2 separate regions of the Homo sapiens genome follow, and region 1 is linked to region 2. The links are contacts of gene promoters, found by promoter capture Hi-C in human tissues and cell types (Jung and others, 2019). All regions are on one chromosome and are shown on one strand. The core of a region is centred on a gene start or on the middle of the fragment in contact, and the rest is flanking DNA. Distances in the headings are between cores, read along the strand shown.

The links. Contacts are between HindIII fragments. The study calls those that stand out against the background at their distance.
Region 1: a contact is called between a fragment that was not itself captured here and the fragment with the promoter of GPR42 in region 2, in 2 of the 25 tissues and cell types used here (lymphoblastoid cells and spleen).

What each region holds. Positions count from the first base shown.
Region 1 is chr19:35,601,488-35,607,092 of GRCh38, reverse strand. LINC01766 (long intergenic non-protein coding RNA 1766) reads right to left here. Exons shown (of 3, transcript NR_110750.1): 3 at 5,592-5,605. Among named protein-coding and RNA genes, the nearest start is that of LINC01766, 6.4 kb to the right of the region's middle. The HindIII fragment of the contact is 5,357 bases long and covers 151-5,507 here.
Region 2 is chr19:35,368,311-35,373,216 of GRCh38, reverse strand. It overlaps GPR42 (G protein-coupled receptor 42), which reads right to left and starts at 2,149. Exons shown (of 2, transcript NM_001348195.2): 1 at 2,099-2,149; 2 at 255-1,868. The coding sequence starts at 1,857. The coding sequence ends at 817. The HindIII fragment of the contact is 14,423 bases long and covers 1-4,906 here.

The DNA.
Region 1 (5,605 bases), core at 1,580-4,079, 230 kb before region 2:
TGGCACCACTTTAGCTTCTTATTCTGTTTTATTTTTCTCTATAGCATTTACCATTCCCTGTAATTATCTTGTTTATTTTTGGGTATACTTGTTTATAGTTTTCTTTCCCACTAGAATGTAAGCTCCATCAGAGAAGAAGTTGGCCTTACTTCTCTTGCTCCGTTGTGTTCCTCGTTCCCAAGACAATGCCTGGGACACAGTAGGTGCTCAGAAAGTATTTGTTAAATAATGAGTATTTGTTAAATAAAAATCATGGCTGGGAACAGTGGCTCACGCCTATAATCCCAGCACTTTGGGAGGCCAAGGCAGACAGATTGGTTGAGCTCAGGAGTTTGAGACCAGTCTGGGCAGCATGGCAAAACCCTGTCTCTACAAAAAATATAAAAATTTGCTGGGCATGGTGGCATGCACCTGTAGTCCTAGCTACTCAGGAGGCTGAGGCATGAGAATCACTTGAACCTGGGAGCCAGAAGTTGCAGTGAGCTGAGATTGTGCCACTGCATTCCAGTCTGGGTGACATAGTGTGACCCTGTCTCAAAAAAAAATTTAATAAAATGAAATAAAAATAACAAGGAGGGTGGGGGGAAGGAGGCAATCCATATCTGTTACAGAGGCTCTCTACAATCAGAACCTGACCAGAACTCTAACCAGTTTGTTAACAGCCATTGAGATCCCCTCAAGAGCTGTGGTTTTTTGATAGACCATGGTAGCTCAGATTAGATGTCAACTGAAGAATCATGAGGTTTTGATATGGTTTGGCTGTCCCCACCCAAATCTCATCTTGAATTGTAGTTCCCCAAATCCCCATGTGTTGTGGGAGGGACCTAGTGGGAGGTAATCGAATCATGGGGGTGGTTACCCCCATGCTGCTGTTCTTGAGATAGTGAGTTCTCACGAGATCTGATGGTTTTATAAGGGGCTTTTCCCTCTTTGCTTGGCACTTCTCCTTCCTGCTGCCATCTGAGGAAGGACGTTTTTGCTTTCTTTTCCACCATGATTTTAAGTTCCCTGAGGCCTCCCCAACCCTGCGGAACTGTGAGTCAATTAAACCTCTTTCCTTTATAAATTACCCAGTCTTGGGCAGTTCTTTTCAGCAGCGTGAGAACAGACTAATACAGGTTTACAAATTTGGAAAGGAGAGCTTTATTTCTCATAAAGAGTTGCAGCCTGCAGCCGGGCCATCTCACAGGCCGAGAAGTGTAGCCTCCGGTAGAAGCTGAGAGCAGGCACCTCCAGTAAGGGAAGGATAAGGTCAGAGTTAACGCTGAATGGCTTGGCTCAGTATACATATTCAACAGGTTATAGGAGGAGCTATGAATATTCATGAAGGGAAGGTACAGCACATGTGTAGTAACATCCCATATTCACTTTTTTTTTTTTTTTTTTTTTTTTTTGAGATGGAGTCTTACTCTGTCACCCAGGCTGTAGTGTAGTGGTGCGATCTCAGCTCACTGCAACCTCTCTTTCCCAGGGTTCAAGCAATTCTCCTGCCTCAGCCTCATGAGTAGCTGGGATTACAGGCACCCATCACCATGCCTGGCTAATTTTTTTATTTTTAGTAGAGACAGGGTTTCACCATGTTGGCCAGGCTGGTCTCAAACTCCTGACCTCAGGTGATCCGCCCACCTTGGCCTCCCAAAGTGCTGGGATTACAGGCGTGAGCCACCGTGCCAGGCCCCATGTTCACTTTGGAGTGGAGACTTAACACTTAAATGTATTACAATTAGGCCCTATACATCAAAAGGTGATGCAGAGGACACAAAGGCCCTTTGTGTGCAGCCTCTGTAGACTGGCCAGAGCCACACCCCGTGGTTAGGTGGCCTCTGATCAGGAAGGAATGCTGGTCAGTTGTTATGTTGAAACCACAAAAGGGAGGAGCAGCCATGTATTTCAGGCCATTGGTTGAAATTAGCAGTGAATGAGTCTTTCAATAGGGCTGGTTTCTGTTTAACCCTTAGGGAAGAAAGCTTCATGGCAGTCAGCAAGGGAGGAGGTAGAATGAGGTGTGCCCGACCACCCGTTCAGTCACGGCTAGGAACTCAGCTTTTAGTGTTTCTCTGTAGGCCCCTTGGCCAAGACAGTGTTCATTCAGCCAGTTGGCGGACTTAGGATTTTATTTTTGTCACGTGCGTCCGTGTGAAGAGACCATCAAACAGGCTTTGTGTGAGCAGTAAAAGCTTTTTAATCACCTGGGTGCAGGCGGACTGAGTCCGAAAAAGGAGTCAGCAAAGGGAGATAGGAGTGAGGCAGTTTTATAGGATTTGGGTAGGTAGTGGAAAATTACAGTTAAAGGGGGTTGTTCTCTTGCAGGCAGGGGCGGGGGTCACAAGGTGCTCGGTGGGGAGCTCCGGAGACTTATTGTCCAGGAGAAGGAATGTCACAAGGTAATGTCATCAGTTAAGGCAGGAGCTGGCCATTTTCACTTGTTTTTGTGGTTCTTCAGTTGCCTCAGGCCATCTGGATGTATACATGCAGGCTTGGGCTCAGACACCTGACAATTTTTATTTCTCACAGGTCTCTTATTTACAGCCTCCTGACAAGGATTCTTTGCTTGGCCAAACTTTAGTCAGGCTTCTGAACCTGGGCCGGGCCCAGTGGCTCATGCCTGTAATCCCAGGACTTTGGGAGGCTGAGGCAGGTGGATCACCTGATCTCAGGAGTTTGAGACCAGCCTGGCCAACATGGAGAACCCCAGCTCTACTAAAAATATAAAAATTAGCCGGGCGGCCAGGCGCGGTGGCTCACGCCTGTAATTCCTACACTTTGGGAGGCCAAGGCAGGTGGATCACCTGGGGTCAGGAGTTTTAAGACCAGCCTGGCCAACATGATGAAATCCCATCTCTACTAAAAATAAAAAAATTAGCCAGGCGTGGCGGCAGGCGCATGTAATCCCAGCTACTCAGGAGGTGGAGGCAGGAGAATCACTTGAACCTGGGAGGCAGAGGTTGCAGTGAGCCGAGATCATGCCACTGTACTCCAGCCTGAGTGAGAGAGCGAGACCCCGTCTCAAAAAAAAAAAAAAAAGAAAAGAAAAGAAAAAAAAAAAAAAAAAAAAAAGAAAGGCTGGGCACGGTGGCTCACGCCTATAATTCCAGCACTTTGAGAGGCCGAGGCGGGCATATCACGAAGTCAGGAGTTCAAGACCAGCCTCACCAACATGGTGAAACCCCATCTCTATTAAAACTATAAAAAATTAGCTGGTTGAGGTGGTGAGCACCTGTAATCCTAGCTACTCAGGAGGCTGAGGCAGGAAAATGGCTTGAATACGGGAGGCGGAAGCTGTAGTGAGCCAAGATTGCACCACTGCATTCCAGCCTGGGTGACAGAGTGAGACTCCATCTCAAAAAAAAAAAAAAAAGCATCTGAACCTTCTCCTTCTGTGCACTTCTTTGTAAAATCCAGTTGTAGCAAAAGAACCCTTCTACGTCAGTTTAGCTAGAAACCCTCATCCTCTGTATCTGATACACCTCGGCATCTGATCAGGTTCCTCATCCTCCACCATCCCCCTGGTGATGTCTGGTCACCCTGGCCTGTCTTCAACTAGAATCCTATTAGGTTGGTTTAGTCAGAATCCCCCTTACCCTCAATGTTTTCTCTTACTAATTTTCCATCCACTGACCCCTACCCTGCTCCTTGGGTAGGACTTCCCACTTGCTCATGCTGTATTTAGTGTTGAGCCCCATCTTTCTCCTCCAGTGCAGGCCCCTGTCTCAGTATTCCCTCTGCATATTGCAATGGTCCTGAATAAAGTCTGCCTTACTGTCTTTTTCTTTTTGAGATGGAGTCAGTTTTGCTCTGTCCCACAGGTTGGAGTGCAGTGGCACAATCTCGAACCACTGCAACCTCTGCCTCCCAGGTTCAAGCAATTCTCATGCCTCAGCCTCCTGAGTAGCTGGGATTACAGGTGCACACCACCACGCCTGGCTAATTTTGTATTTTTAGTAGAGACAAGGTTTCACCATGTTGGCCAGGCTGGTCTTGAACTCCCAAGCTCAAGTGATCCGCCCGCCTCGGCCTCCCAAAGTGCTGAGATTACAGGCATGAGCCACTGTGCCTGGCCCGCCTTACTGTCTGTAACGAGTGTCATTAAACAAGTGTTTCTTTAGTAACCCTTCCCAAGTTTTCTTCCATTATATATTGGACCACTCCGATTGTCACTGTCTGGTGGCATGTCTGTCTCTCACCCCAATTTATATGTTCTGAGGGGGTTGAGTTGAATTTGAAGTAGTCATTGCTACGTCTCCAGAGTCAGGTAGCACAGCCAACGCCCTTGGTAGGCAGAACTAGACTTGCGATGTGAATACATGAATCTGGGCAGGCTGTCCTCGAGCAACGGGGTCCTCCTCTCTCTCCCATGTCCCCCACGCCATAGCAGGGTCCTGGAGTTGGTCTTGAGTTCTGGTCGAGTGGGCTGCTGGCACTACCACTTCCTTCCCTTCAAGCTGCTGACCCAGGCTGGCAACACTTGTGTGATACTGTGACATATATATTTGGTCTAGGTCCCATTTTGTGGCCCAGAGCTCCTAAAACCCTTGGAATCGCTGGAGTGATAATAGTGTTTTGTTTTTTTTTTTTTTGACGGAGTCTCGCTGTGTTGCCCAGGCTGGAGTGCAGTGGCATGATCTCAGCTCTCTGCAACCTCCACCTCCTGGGTTCAAGCGATTCTCCTGCCTCAGCCTCCTGAGTAGCTGGGATTATAGGCGTATGCCATCACACCTGTCTAATTTTTGTATTTTTAGTAGAGACGGGGTTTTGCCATGTTGGCCAGGCTGGTCTCAAACTCCTGGCTTCAAGCGATCTTCCTGCCTCAGCCGCCCAAAGTGCTGGGATTACAGGCCTGAGCTACTGCACCTGGCCAGCTGGAACAAATTAATCAGGCTTGAGGAGGGGGGTCATGGGAACACCTGATTTATAGCTTGTCAGTCACAAGTCTAGGTGACAACTTACCACTTGTGGCTGACATCCAAATTTGGGGGCAGTCTTGTGGAACTGAGCCTTCAACCTGTGGGATCTGATGCCATCTCCAGGTAGATAGTGTCAGAATTGAATTAAATTACAGGACACCCAGTTGGTGTCTGCTGGAGAATCTGGTTGGTTGGTAGGTGGGGAAAATACCCCTGCCCCTGGCTCTAACATTTGGTGTTAGAAGTGTTATGCTGAGGCCTGGTATGGTGGCTCACACCTGTAATCCCAGCACTTTGGGAAGCTAAGGTGAGTGGATCACCTGAGGTCAGGAGTTTGAGACCAGCCTGGCCAACACGGTGAAACCCCGTCTCTACTAAAAATACAAAATTAGCTGGGCATGGTGGTACGCACCTGTAATCCCAGCTACTCAGGAGGCTGAGGCAGAAGAATCACTTAAACCTTGGGGGCAGAGGTTGCAGTGAGCCGACATCGTGGCACTGCACTCCAGCCTGGACAGAGGAAGACTCTGTCAAAAAAAAAAAAAAAAAAAGAAGTGTTACTTTGAGGGGCATGTAAGAATAGGAAGAACACTTTGCATTTTGTTTTTCTAATCTTAGATAGCTTGGCACTCCAGACATTGAGGAGCAGGTGTTCCATTCAGCCCAAGTAGATGCTTAGAGCCAAGGTAAATTGCACTGTG
Region 2 (4,906 bases), core at 900-3,399:
CATCTGAAACTGGGGATAATGCTGGTACCTCTCACAGGGCTATTGAGAGATAGAAGGAGATGATGTGTCAGGCCAAGTCCTTTAGACAGGGCAGCTGTTATTTTCATCCCTGCAAGCCAGATCCTCTCCCAGCATCCAGGCATCCTGGTGTTTGGCCCTTTTCCTCCAGAGTCTGGTGTTTTCTCCTTCCATCCACCAGTCCCACCCGGCCCAAGCACACCACCAGAACAAAACAGGAGAAGAAGGAAACACTGTTCTCTTTTGCTTGCTTCCACATTTATTTGGGTAATTTTTCTTCTGTCATTGTTCATAAATGTCTCTGATGATCCACATTTATTGAGCAATGGGAACTTTCTGGAAAAGGCACTGTGGGAGCAGAATGCGGCCTCATCCCTGGAGCCCTGTCTCCCCCGCTCCTGACTCGCTGGCTGGGAGCAGCTCTGAGGATGGGGTTCTCCCCTCTCCTGCCCCTGCCACTCACTGGGCAGCCCCCTCAGACCTGGGCACTGCTCTTAGCTCCTCTGCCACCCTCAAGAAAACACAGGAGCTGCCTGCTGCTATGAGGACCTCATTGTTCTCCAGAGCAGCCTCTCACCCTGACCCCTTCCCAGAGCCCAATCCATAGTGTGTGGGTGGATGGGGATGGAGGTGAGATCGAGAGCTGGGCTTTAGCGCGCATACCCTTAGGGAGGCTAGATGTCTACTCTGCCCCCAAGCCCCATCGGGCCCCAGCTCGCCACTCCAAGTCCCTCCTGGCGTGAGCGAGGAAGCGCCCTGAGGATGACACGCCAGCTACACCCTCCTCCCCCGGAGGACCTAGTTTTCAGCACAGGCCACCTGGCCACCAGTTCCACAGCCCTGTGAGTGTTCACTGGTCTTTCTTTCAGCTGGTCGGTCCGCTCTCTGCTCCTCCCCTCCCTTCTGCTCCTTCAGCTCCATGCTGCTCTCCTGCTGCCACTGGCCCCAGAGCCCACACAACCTCCTCAGCAGCTCATGAAAGTCGGCTTGGAACCCGGAGGAGGAGAAGTAGTAGACAAAGGGGTCGACACAGGAGTTCAGGGTGCTGAGAAGCGTCACGTAGATCCTCCACACCGGGCTTTCACCGCAGATATAGCCCACGACATGGGACACGTTGTAGGGCCCAAAGCAGACAAGGAAGTTGAGCAGCGTGGCCGCCACCAGCCCCGCCACCCTCCTCTGCCGGCGGTGGCTGCCCCCTCTGCCGAGGATCCACACCAGGCGGCTGTAGCAGTAGCTGGTGATGATCAGCGGGACCACAAAGAGGACCACAGCCATCTCCAGCCGCACGGGCAGGAGGATGGCTAGCTGGTCCTTCCAGAACTCCAGGTAGCAGGTCCCATTGGTGCCCTGGCTGTGGGAGATGTCCCCTGAGAATTCTATGACGTAGACCACGCTGCAGTGAGCAGAGGCCAACAGCCAGCAGGCCACACTCACCAGACCTGCCTGCCCCAGCCTCGGCCGGGTCTTGTACCACAGTGGGTGGGCCACACTCAGGAAGCGTTCAATGCTCACAGCTGCCAGGAAGAGGGCGGTGAGATAGATGGTGGTGAAGAAGATGAATCCAGAGAGTGGGCAGAGGATGAAGGGCAGGGGCCAGTGCATGCCATTGGCTGCCTCCACCATGCGGAAAGGCAGGAACAGCAGCAGGAGCAGGTCCGAGGCGGTCAGGTTGAGCAGGAGCACGTCCACGGCCACCGGGCGGCACCGCAGCTTGCCCACGAAGACCACCAGGGCCAGCAGGTTGAGGGGGAGCCCCACCAGGAAAGTGAGAAGGTACACCGAGAAGACGAACCAGTGATTGCCGGAGAAGTAGGACTGGTCGGGGCCTGTATCCATGGTGGTGGCCACTGGTGAGAGAGAGTAACATGGAGTTGGTAGTGGGGGCCCTAACGGCCTCTGGCCAGCAGCATCTCCCCTAAAAGGGCACGAGGTCACTACGCCCACCCCTCTTGTCTCTGGGTGCCTTCCAGGCGGGGTCAGCCTGCCTGTCTTCCTGAGCATGCCCTGTCCCCTGTCCCTTCCCCAGCAGAGAAGCACCAAGGTGCTCCTCCACCCAGCCCCTCGGGCCCAGGCTCACCTGCTTCTTTGAGACCCCAAATGCTCTGCCGCACAGCACCTTGCTGTCTCTCCAGACCTAGTGCAGTTGGCTATTTATCCGGCAGAACTGATAAAGACCTGGCCGTGCCCATGACATCACTCACTGTTGAGCAGTGGCACAAAGATGCCTTGAGCTCCGTTGCCAGGGCTGGTCAGTATGCAAAAAGGGGAACAAATTCCACAACTGCGTGCCTCCCTCCTTGCGCAGCCTCAGCTGGGATGCTCCAAACAGGCCCCAGCTGACGTCTTCTTCCCCTCCCCTCTCTTCCACTTGAATTTTGTCTGATTCTCTAGAATGGCACTTATCCAGTTTGCCTTTTAAGGGCACAAAGCATGAGCCAGTGACAGACTGGACTCCGTGAGGTCTGTTCCTTCCTGACTTTGTGATGTGGGGGAAGAGATGTGTCTCTTCTTCCTCCCCTACAGAACAGGGATTGTCATAGTACCTGTACCATATTTCAAAGCATGAACACATGCAGATTAAAACATATATACAGGTAGATTAAAATGTTAATAATATAGGTCAATTGCTTTTTGAAAATATTTATTTTAGATTCGGGAGCACATGTGCAGGTTTGTTACATGGGTATATTGCATAATACTGAGGTTTGGGCTTCTATTGAACCCATTACCAAAATTGTGAACATAGTACCCAATAGGCAGTTTTCCCACCCTTGTCCTCCGCCCTCCCTCCCCCACTTTGGAGTCCCCACTGTCTATGGTTTCCATCTTTAATGTTTGCGTGTACCCATTGTTTACCTCCCACTTAAAAGTGAGAACATACAGCATTTGATTTTCTGTTTCTGTGTTAATTCACTTAGGATCATTCACTTAGGCCTCCAGCTGCATTTATGTTGCAGCAAAGGACATGATTTCATTCTTTTTTATAGCTGCATAGTATTTCGTGATGTGTATGTACCATTTTTTCTTTATCTAGTCCACCATTGATGGGCACCTAAGTTGATTCCATCACTTTGCCATTGTGAATAGTGCTGTGACAAACATACACATGCAGGTGTCTTTTTGGTAGAATGATTCCATTTTATGAAAAATGACATTGATAATTTGGTAGGAATTGGGTGGAATCTGTAGATTGCTTTGAGCAGTATGGACATTTTAATGATATTGATTCTTCTAATCCATGAACATGGAATGTTTTTCATTTATTTGTGTTTTTTAGTTCTCCTTGTAGAGATCTTTCACTTTCACTTCCTTGGTTAGATGTATTCCTAGGTATTTTATTTTTGTGTGTGGCTATTGTAATTGGGATTCTGTTCTTTATTTGGCTCACAGCTTGACAATTGTTGGTATATAGTAATGCTACTGATTTTTATACACTGATTTTGCATCCTGAAACTGCCAGTCATTTATCAGGTCTAGGAGTATTTTGGAGGAATCTGTAGGGTTTTCTAGGTATAGAATCATATCATCAGTGAACAGAGATAATTTGACTTCCCCTTTCTATTTGGATGCCTTTTATTCCTTTTTCTTGCCTGATTGCTCTGGCTAGGACTTCCACTACTATGTTGAATAGGAGTAGTGGGAGTAGGCATCCCTGTCTTTTTCCATTTCTTAGGGGGAATGCTTCCAACGTTTGCCCATTCAGTATGATGTTGGCTGTGAGTTTGTCCTGGATGGCTCTTATTATTTTGAGGTGTGTTCCTTCGATGTTTAGTTTTTTGAGGGTTTTTATCATGAAGGGATGTTGGATTTTATTATATGTTTTTTTCTGCATCTATTGAGATGATCATATAATTTTTGTTTTTAATTTTATGTGGTGAGTCACATTTATTGATTTGCATATATTGAAACATCTTTGCATCCCAGGAATAAAGCCCACTTGATCATGCTGAATTATGATTTTGTCATGCTGCTGGATTTGGTTTGCTAGTATTTTATTGAGGATTTTTGGATCTATGTTCATCGGGCTATTGGCCTACAGTTTTCTTTTTTCACTGTGTCCTGCCAGATTACGATATCAGAATCAGACTGTTTTTGTAGAATGAGTAGGGAATCTCTCCTCCTCAATTTTCTGGTAAAGTTTCAGTAGGATTGGTACCATCTCTTCTTTGCAGGTCTGGTAGAGTTTGGCTGTGAATCCATCTGGTCAAGGGCTTTTTAAAGGTGGTAGATATTTTATTACTGATTCAATTTTGTAACTCATTATTGGTCTGCTCAGAGTTTCAATTTCTTTCTGGTTCAATCTTGGTTGTATGTTTCCAGAAATTTATTTGTTTCCTCTAGATTTTCTGATTCATGTGAATATAGATGTTCATCGCAGTCTCTGAGGATCTTTTGTATTTCTGTGGAATTAGTTGTAATCTTGTCTGTGTTATTTCTGATTGTGCTTTTTTGGAGGTTTTTTTTTTTCCTTTGTTAATCTAGCTTGCAGCCTATAAATCTTGTTTATTCTTTCAAAGAACCAATTTTTCATTTCATTGATCCTTTGAATGGCTTATTTGTCACAATTTCGTTTAGCTCTACTCTGATTTTAGTTATTTCTTTTCTTCTGCTAGCTTTGGATTTAGTTTGCTCTTGTTTTTCTAGTTCCTTCAGGTGTAATGTTAGGTTATTAATTTGAGATCTTTCTAACTTCTTGATGTAGGCATTTAGTGATATAAAATTTCCTCTTAAAACTGCTTTTGCTGTATCCCAGAGGTTTTGGTATGTTGTGCCTCTATTTTCAGTTGTTTCAAAGAAGTTTTTGACTTCTGCCTTAATTTTTTGACTTCTTCCTTAATGACTTACCCCAAAGTCATTCAGGAAATAGTTGTTTAGTTTCCATGTA